Regions from separate parts of the Homo sapiens genome. Here region 1 is linked to region 2. Evidence: promoter capture Hi-C in human tissues and cell types (Jung and others, 2019). All regions are on one chromosome and are shown on one strand. The core of a region is centred on a gene start or on the middle of the fragment in contact, and the rest is flanking DNA. Distances in the headings are between cores, read along the strand shown. Region 1 overlaps CEP41 (centrosomal protein 41). Region 2 holds the start of CPA2 (carboxypeptidase A2).

What was found. Contacts are between HindIII fragments. The study calls those that stand out against the background at their distance.
Region 1: a fragment that was not itself captured here is called in contact with the fragment with the promoter of CPA2 in region 2 in 1 of the 25 tissues and cell types used here (dorsolateral prefrontal cortex).

Annotation. Positions count from the first base shown.
Region 1 is chr7:130,413,139-130,418,127 of GRCh38, forward strand. It overlaps CEP41 (centrosomal protein 41), which reads right to left. Exons shown (of 11, transcript NM_018718.3): 3 at 3,781-3,828. Among named protein-coding and RNA genes, the nearest start is that of CEP41, 25 kb to the right of the region's middle. The HindIII fragment of the contact is 3,284 bases long and covers 1,404-4,687 here.
Region 2 is chr7:130,263,402-130,268,625 of GRCh38, forward strand. It overlaps CPA2 (carboxypeptidase A2), which reads left to right and starts at 3,462. Exons shown (of 11, transcript NM_001869.3): 1 at 3,462-3,551. The coding sequence starts at 3,481. The HindIII fragment of the contact is 6,290 bases long and covers 1,680-5,224 here.

The DNA.
Region 1 (4,989 bases), core at 1,796-4,295, 150 kb after region 2:
CCACCACCAGGCCTGGCTAATTTGTGTATTTTAGTAGAGACGGGGTTTCACCATGTTGGCCAGGCTGGTTTCGAGCTCCTGGCCTCAAGTGATCCACCCACCTCAACCTCCCAAAGTGCTGGGATTACAGGCGTGAGCCAAAGCGTCCGGCCCCACCATTTAAAAAAATAAAATAAAACCAACTTAGGCCAGGTTTGGTGGCTCATGCCTGTAATCCCAACACTCCAATTAATAATACAACTAATAATACAAAATACAACTAATAATACAAATCCCAACTAATAATACAAAAATTAGTTGGGCATGGTGGTGCACACCTGTAATCCCAACTACTCCAGAGGCTGAGGCATGAGAATCAATTGAACCTGGGAGGTGGAGATTGCAGTGAGCCAAGATTGCACTACCACATTCCAGCCTGGGTGAGAGTGAAACTGTGTCACAAAAAAAAAAACAAAAAAAAAACTTAAAACATCAATATTTATTCAGTGCTGTCTTGACAATTCTGAGCTATAACTCACATATAGGTACTTCTGCACTTGTGTTCATAATTCTTCCCATCACATTAAACAGTTATTAAAAACTAAGCCAGTTGCACTTTATCTATTATCTGTTCCATAGATACGTGTTAAAGGTTAGCTTCCTTAAACTGTTTTGAAGATGACAGTCAAATTCTGAATGGTTTTCAGTGTTGAACTCTGCCCGCCCTCATGCTTTCCTCCTCACCTAGGTTTTTATATTGGTACCCATGACTCTTTAACTGCTGCCTCATTATTTCAGAATTATTAAAGGTTAGCTGGTTAATTGCTATGGCCTTCACAGCATAAATGTCTCATAAACCAAGACTCCTAGCAACAAAGGAAAGGATTAAAAGTATTTAAGATTATTTACCTGGTGTAACTAATCACTTTCATGAATTTTCCAAAAACCAGCACAGACCTTAAGACTCAGAGTCGGGAAATGATACTACTTTAAAAACTAGCCTTCTGTAAATATATCAAGGCTTTTTAAAAATAGGGAATTAAACTTCTCTGTTCTAAAATGTCTTAAAGAGAGCAATTTGGCTAATAACAGACCATTACTTCTAGGAAATGCTTAGAGATGCTGCTTCTGGATACAACAAGGTAACAAACCTATATGCAGTGGAACTTCTAAAACCTGCCGGGATGCAGACCCAAATAGGCCGAGCTGAGGCTTTACAAAGTACAACCAAATAACTACAGTGTTCCTTTTGATTGCCACCAACTTGCCCACCAAAAGTCGTTTATGCAAATCAAAACAACAATAAATCAGCAAATGGAAACAGCCAACAGCTTTCAAGTAGTTTGCACTGTGACATTTATCCACTGATATTCTTTTGGTATGGTTACAAGGTTTAAAATGCTTCTAAGCATAAAATGTATACTTTAAAATCTCCTTTAACTAAACAAAGATTAATTTAAACAAACAAAAAAAAGACTGCTTTATTCTAAAGATTGGGATTTCTACTGTCTTCTGCACAAGCACTAGCAGCCCCCTACATATTTGAACCTGAACTCCACGTACCTGGTTCTGGTTTAGAAGGACAGCCGTCAGTAGGACTTTTTGACATGATTACTCAGAGATAAAAGATCAAACTAGATGTTCTACAGTAAGTTTAAATTTTTATAAAAAGGATGACTTGGAAGGCTCTGTCAGTCTGTCCTCGCAAGAGCGAACAGAGCTTTAAGAATGGAGCTTCTGCTATGTGTCTTCTCCCAAACTCTGTGTTGAAGACAATCCTAGTTTCAGATATGTTATCAAGGTGTGCTTCTCCAGTAAGTCTAGGTTCTAAGTCTGTCTCTCTCGAGTTACTGGAAGGACAGAGACCTGACTATCTAGGATGTTTCACACTGGGTCCAACTAGTGTCATCTAACCACCAGAAACCAAGAATGGGCTTTGTAAATTGTCAATAGACATAGAGTGTCTATTTTCCCCAGGTAGAGTTGAAAGAATATTCAGATTACAAAGGATTTCTGCATTTTCAGGGTTCTGTTGAAATGCATTATTAGCAAAGGGAAGTTGGGTTCACAGTGGAAGACAAATCAAAGGAAGTAACAGAACAAGGTTTGTGGTTTCACAGAAAGAAATGGCATCTAAGGTAATCTGAGTAAAGTGATGGGTCTAGGGTATCAAGAAACAAGGGAATATTCTCCTCCCTTTCAACCCCAAATAATACTTACAACAGAAAATGGGGAAAGAGAAGGAAATATCTTCTAAAATGTAGATGCCAAACCAGAATCTAAAGCAATTCTGTCAGGGAATCAGCACAAAGTGTGTGAAATGGGGTAACAGGAATCTCCTGCTCTACTAAAAGGAAGCCCTCCACTCCTACAGAGGGAAAGTGAAGCAAGCATTTTTCAAGGTTCTGTTCCAAGGGTATTGTTCTGGGAGATCACCTCCACGTAAGGTTTAGATATTAAAGAAACCACATCGTACTTTGAAGAAATGTTTTAAGTGAGGTTATGGCAACCTGGGCAGAGTGGGACATTTTTATGGGACAAATTTCTAGTGAGGACATGTGAACTCACACTCAGCTGCAAATGGATGAGAGGTGACAGAGACGACAAACCCAAAAAGAAGCAGGCCAGCTGGATTCTGCCTGTCTTGGATGAGTCAAGGATGGCAACAATGAAGTGTAGGTGAGTAAATGCGATCTTTCTCCAGAGTTTAAAAGTATATATTTTATATAGATATTTAAAATACATATACTTATGTAATATAAAATGTTCAGGAAGAAAAGAGAAGGATACTGTGGCATTACATATTTTTAAGAAGTTTGTAGCATTAGCCCTTATAGCTGAACATGGCAAATGAAAACACAGCATAAAGCAGCTCCTGAGTCCACATCTATTGGTTGGGGTTTCCCAATATTGCAGCAATTCAAATGGAACTTTGATTTCAAATAAAAGGTCTGCTGTGTAAAAGAAGAAAATGTTCTGATGTATTCTGGATGTGCAATTTTATCTTCCAAGAAGATGTACATTACCAGAGCCAAGTCCTGAACTATGATTAATCAGAGTACCTCTTTACCACCATTAACTAAATATCCCCTAGCACTGGGTTCTCTTATTCAAGATATGAGCAAATCCATCTTAGAAAATAGATGTTTCTACTTCTTCCTTAATTCTGGCCTTGAAGTATACACTTTACATCAGTTTTGGATGCAGACTGAAAAATTATGATTTTGTGCAAGGGCAATGCACTCAATGACTGGTAACATATCTTTGCAGATAAGTTTTTTAAAAGGATGTAGATGAAATATGATTTTTAATTAAAAGAAAACAGACTGCAATGAATTGATAATGCATAACACTAAGTTCTCACGTCCCTGTCTTCCATGAATACTCTCATTTATACACACAAGAATGTTCTGAAGGAAGATATTATTACCCCCTATCTCAAATAGAGACAAAATAAGACAGAAAAGATGAAATATCTTGAAGAAGGGCATGAAGACTGCAGTACAATGACACTAGAAGCTTAAGCAGAGCTCATTCCACCAGATCTGACTCTGCAGGCCAACACTAATGTCTCCTATGGGATGGAAATAGGGCAGAATTTAGGCCTACAGGCCACAATCTGAGAAGCAGCCCAGTACAGCACCCAGGATCTCCCACAGCCCTTGAGGCACCTGCTAGGCTTATCGGACCATCCATAGCTCTCTGTGCCTGTCACCTGTGGAACACAATTGTTAGTTAAGAACCAATTTATAGAACAACTATAGACTTCCACTCTCCCAAACCATCAAGAGTGTTACTTACTTTTCTTAATCTCTTCGAGCTTCTCAGTATATTTAGTCATACTGTTACCTAAAAAGAAAATAAGGGGTTTTAGATATACTTTAAATGGAAGCAAATGAGTAACACTGTGGAAACAGAATGGAGGAAAAGTATCCCCTAAGCTTTCCTATCCTGTTCTTAGGGGATTCTGGACAGCAGCAAACAGGCCACACACAGTAAAATCTTTTGGATAATACAGCGTTATTAAAAGTTGCAGAGCCGAGGGAAATGTTTTGGTAGAATGTGTTTAAGCTGGGATGCATACCCCCAAAACATTGACAAGTTCCAGGAGATACAGATGATCATTTTCTATCAGTTTGTTTTTCAAGTCTAGGCTTTCCTCCTCCTTTTATCTCCCCTGCCCCCGCTGACGATCTTTTTGTGGGGAAGATACACAGAAGAGGAGCAAAAAGGAGGCAGTGTTCTTTGAGTGTCTAAAATGTGCCTTTGTGGTTACCCAAGCAACTCTCTCCTCTCGGCTTTGTCTTCACAGTTTCCTTCTCTTTCCTGAACTTACTCTTCTACCGTTCATGCTCACGTTGCAGTCTGAACTAGACTACACAGTCTACACACTAGTATTCACCATAGATTTGATGTGCTGAGAAATAACAGCAGATTCTTGAAACTGCAGAGAGGCCCCAGCCCTCATGTTTTATAGTATGTTTCTATAATACTAGTACTGGCCAAGGTGGTTTGGAGGTTTTCAGACTTAAAAAACTCAGCCAGGAACCTTCTGGTTTCCAACTCAATTCTAGCTGTCAAGCCAGGGGCTATTATATTTTACTGGGTATGCTTCGATTTGATTCAATTCAACGCAGGAAGCTCTTTCTGTCACCTAAAAGGTATGGCAAAAGGAAAACATTCAAAATAATTTCTCATTTCTAAAACTGTGCTCCTAACTTTTTAAGCCTGGAGAGGATCTAGTCAGATGCAGCCCCAACATCAGATAAAAGAAATGCTTTCAATTAATAGTAGCATGAACTGACATTTTCAAGGACTATTCTGAACTTTTCTTCATGTTTGGGTCAGAAGCAGAAAAAGAAAATCCTTGCTCTGAAACCCAAAATACATTTTCAAAAAAACAACTTATTTCATTGGCTATTATTAAATCTTTACCATGAATTCATCATGGAATAAAAATCCACCATTGTTTTCTTTTCTTTTCTTTTCTTTTTTTTGGTGTTAAGACAT
Region 2 (5,224 bases), core at 2,212-4,711:
TCTGGCTGGAGATTTTCTTAATGATTCTCAGAAACAGATTTTACTGGGGATGATAGATCTGTGATATGTGATATTGATTGTGGTGATGATTTCATCATGGATGTATACCTATGTCAAAACATGTCAAATTGCATGTCTTAAATATATGTAGTTTATAGACTGAGTTTCTTAAGAGAATGATACAAATTTAAAAATAAACATATGCCGTTTATTATATGTCATGTATACCTCAATATGACTGTTTAAAAAAATAGATTTCACCCAGCTTGTATGGTGGTGAGGAGGTAGAAATGACAATGCCCTATTCTGATATGTATCAGTTTATATTGTCAGAAACAGAAAACAGAGCTTTCTTAAGTTTTTCCTACAACCTCCTTCGAAGGCTTGTGCTTTCTCCTTCTCTAACTTCCTCTATTTATTTTATAAAATTACAATTTTCACCTTTCAAAAGACAAAATTACATCAAATTCAGTTTAAAGATCTCAGTTGGCTTTATTTGCGATTCTAGAATAGGGTAACACTTCATCCCATAAAACACAGTGAGTATTCTCATGAGCTAAGCAGAAGGGCTTGGCCTTACAGACAAAGACGGGCTGGATAACGCAGAAGCAAAAAACAAAGACTGTTAGTCTTTCCAAAGCTACTTTTCTTTTAAGGTGGGGACAGTGAGACACCACAATAGAAAAATAAGTGGTTGGTTAACATCAGGTGACTTCAGGCCACATTTTTTGTGTAAGGATTAAAGCAAAAGAGATTCATTATCGTGCCTATTGAAGATTTAAACTGGCCTGTTTGGGAAATTGCCTGTTATCTCTTTCTCCTGATTTCTCAGGTCAGTTAACAACCTATCTTGGGTCCTTAGCATGGGTGGCTCTGCTTTGATTTTTAGTCTGGTCTGCTGGGGTCTGGTATGGAAGCTTAGTCCAAAATAATGGCCTTCTATAATTTTTATTTGGCACATCCATCCAGGGAATGTTTATTTTTCTCACTCAGGCATCATCTTTGAGTCCTTTGGACTCAGGAGTGAGGTGGGGGCGAGGCATCTTTTGGACCCCCATTATAGCTCTAGGCTCAACACCCCCTTCCATTGTTCTTCCCAGCAAGGAAAGAGAGCTATCATGTTCCTAGCACTGAGAGTGGATTCAATCATTGAGTAGCACTTCTCAGCAGAAATTCCTTTTTGAAAGCTTAACAGTAGGGGAGATAATCAAAACAAATTCTTACAGTGGAACTTCACCCAGTGTCACAATGGATGGGGAGATGTTGTGGGGGCAACCATGGAGGTGGCTACCTATCCCTCCTTTAACACGGGCTGGAACTTCCTTTCCCCACCTTCTCCTTCTATATCCAGTCATGCACCAATTACTCACCACAGGCTTGTGTTTCTTCCACTGAAATCTCTCTTCAAGGCCATCTCAGACATTTCCTCTGCCATCCACAAGTCCAGATGTAGCATCCTAAATCTCGGTTTCCCCAAGAGGCTCATATTTGGCTCCCTGCTTAGAGGATCTCTGCCAGGCACCATCCTGCAAGGTTCACCATTTTCAGCATTGCCCTCATCAATCAGTTACCTGCTTAGAAACCTTCCAAGGCTCTCCATATCATCTGGTGTGTACTCCTCTGTTTGGATTGTGAGATCCTTTGCCCTCTAGCCCACCTTCTGGTATTTTACCTTCCCCACCACTCCCAGGTTCAAGTCTCTGCTCTGCTAGGCTAAGTTTCCTCCTTAACCCAGCTGTGTATCATGTGCTCTCCCCTGGTTCCCTGTCTAGCTTATATTTTCTTACCACCAGAAATCCAGGCTCTTTTCACATTTGCCTTGGCACAAAGGCTCAGCTCAAACTCCATTTTTTTTTTTTTTTTTTTGAGACGGAGTCTCACTCTGTTGCCTAGGCTGGAGCGCAGTGGTGCCATCTGGGCTCACTGCAAGCTCTGCCTCCCGGGTTCACACCATTCTCCTGCCTCAGCCTCCTGAGTAGCTGGGACTACAGGCTCCCGCCACCACACCCGGCTAACTTTTTGTATTTTTAGTAGAGACGGAGTTTCACCATGCTAGCCAGGATGGTCTCGATCTCCTGACCTCGTGATCCACCTGCCTTGGCCTCCCAAAGTGCTGGGATTACAGGCGTGAGCCACTGAGCCCAGCCTGAAACTTGATTTTTTCCAGGAAGCTTTTATTGATTCTCCAAGTACATACTTCCAGTTTATTGAACTACTGTTTATTTGATAGGTGCTGGAGACATGAGGATGAATTATGGCCTCTGCCTTTTGGTTTCTGTCTTCTCTCTGACTCCCAGGAGAATGAAAAACCAAGTTAATCCAGTCATTCTTAAAATCAGAAACACTGTGTATATACCTTTCCCCTTAAAGCAGATATTTGAGAATGCAAACCCAGAGATTTAAAGTGTGTGCTGATAAATTTGACACACAAAGGACAGACGAAAATTTCCTTGCTGCTTGTTGTGGTTGAGGCTTTCTAGGCTTAATATAACGTGTATGAACAACTAAAATTAAATAAACTATGGTTTCTAAAAATAAGCAGTTATATTTTCTTCTTAAGCAATGAAGAACAAAGTCAGATTAATGTAGATCTATGTTTATGAACAAGAAAAGATCACCTTTGTTTAAAGAACAGTATACGTGATATGGTCTAATCTTTGTTTAAGAAAAAAACTCGAAAGCAGAGAAAGAAATTTGGAAAGACATATGCCAAATGGTTTTCTTTGGATGGAAGAATTATTGATGGTTAAAGAAAACACTTTCTTTTAATTCACACTTTTTATAACAAGCAACTTCATTGTTGCTTGTTATAGGAAATGTCATCAGAAAGACATTTTCATTTTGGGAAAAAGCACAGAAAGAGGGATATCAATTTGGTGCAAATGCAGATGGATCACTTTCGAGAAAGTGCAAAATTGAATATTAAAAGGCCTTCTGTTTTGTTTTAATGTAGAGTGAGGATTGGAATGGGCCACATCTACAGGGACACTCAGCAGATGTGGACTGAGTGACTGCAGTGTTTCAAGGTAAACATTATAAAAATAAACAAATGAGCAAACTAATGGAATGTGATAGACAGGATGCCTGAGTAATTACTATAAATGCTCTGGCCTTTTTTTTGTGTGTGTGTCAGAGACCCAGAAAAGACTTTAACCTCTAGGTCTATTAATCTGGCTTCTATCACAGGGTAGCTAGTGGCGTTTTATGGTCTCAATCATAACTATATTGCCCTTGGTATGCTCTAGCAATTTTGTTCTCTTTCCATCAAAGTTTGTTATCTTATCCTAGGAATGGAACATGTACACATTGGTGATATCACACAGGTGGATGTCTACAACCTTGAGAATTTCACATGCAGGTGGGAATTTTCCCATGTGGGAATTCACGTGAGTTCTCAGAAGGCCAGCAGATCACCCTCAGCTGCCATCCCTACAAATAAAGTTCAGGAAGGACTCTGAATTCTGGACTCCAGGAAAACCCATGGCCATGAGGTTGATCCTGTTTTTTGGTGCCCTTTTTGGGCATATCTACTGTCTAGAAACATTTGTGGGGTAAGTTATGCTTTCTGGTGCTTCTTTGAATTTTACTTACCTGATTGATGGAGGCTTTGATTGTTACAGAGTAAATGGGTATAAGTGTTCAGTGTTTTCAGAGAAGTTCTCTTAGATTTGGGGATAAGTCAATAGTGTGAAAAAAAGGAGTGGATGATCAAAAAGGAGGTGAATGACATTTAAAGGAAAAGACAAAAGTGAAAACTGAACACACATAACCCTATTTCTCTCTGTCCTTACTCATTTTTCCCTCCAGTGATCAGACTGTAGGGATGATAGACATCAGGGAAAATACAGCTGTGTGGCCATTTGTTCCAGGCAACTCAGCGGGTGTCAATGCTACTCTCCCACCTCCTCCTGCTCTTCTGGGCTTTACCATCCACGTTAGCCCTTGTGCCCTAACCCCCGATCTTTAGATTCAGCACCTAGGTGGTGGAACCTCATGAAGTAGAAAGGCCAGGGCTATAGATTTCAGCTCAACTCCTCCTCTCCTGGCTTTGGAGGACTCATCTTTGCTCCAAAGTACTTTGCTTCATGATTCTATGAAGGGTTTCAGGCAGCATTTTTTGAAGAGTGGTCCAGGGAGCTAAGAAAGCAATCAAATAAGTTTGGTCCCAAAAAGCCACTGGTCAAATAAATGTGGGAATCAGAGGATTAAACAAACTATAGGATTTCTAGGAGCCTTGGCTAAATCAGTGTGCATTATAAATCTATAAGAGGGGATCTAGGTTGCAGCATGTACTCTTTTTTTTAATCATAAACTACCTACTGCTCCCAGCTTGCCCTTTCTTTCTTTCTCTTTCTCTTTCTTTCTTTCTTTCTCTTTCTTTCTTTCTTTCTTTCTTTCTTTCTTTCTTTCTTTCTTTCTTTCTTTCTTTCTTTCACTGAGTAACTCAAAGAACTACTATTCTTTAGAACACACACCAGGAAATATGACCCTGTTGTATTACTTTTCTCAGTGCCTTCCCATTTTAAAGGAGGACTCCTGGGAGTCCATGCATTAACCGAAAATAATGAGACTTAAATGGAAGAATTTTCAGACCATTTGTGGCAGGTGAGCCTCGAAGAGCTCACATTCCATCACTTCTGTATTCCACTGGAGTTCGTAGGAAATTGCATGGAGCTTGGTTTCAGAAGACCCATATTCTGGTCCCTGTACATGGCTCATTGTATTGATTCCTTCCCCACTGCACAAACAGTTGGGGCAGTGACTTAGGAAGTCTGCCTACGTGGAGAAAGGCTAGAAGGGGAAACTCTGTCACCAAGGGAACTCTTCCTAAAGAGATGTGCTTGATTGTTTTGAGATTTCTCTTTCCTGTTCATCCTTCATTCCCTATTAAGGGGGTGTGTGTGTGTGTGTGTGTGTGTGTGTGTGTGTGTGTGTTTGTAAAGAGAGGCACGGCACATAATTTGTCAGGGTCCCAACTATCTCTGGCCATGCCCCATGTTTGGGCCCCATGAATGGGGTCTGGGGATGGAACCTTGATACATTTTCAGTTGACAAAATCAAAGAACAAACAAAACCCCCAAAACCATTAAAAACAAAATCTTAGGACTACCCACATATGAATTGTTTCCTCTTACAAGCACCAAATTATTCCACTTTTTAAAAACTTACTTCTGAACAACAGGAACAGGCAAGTATTAAAAGCTATAACACTCCACAAGCAGCA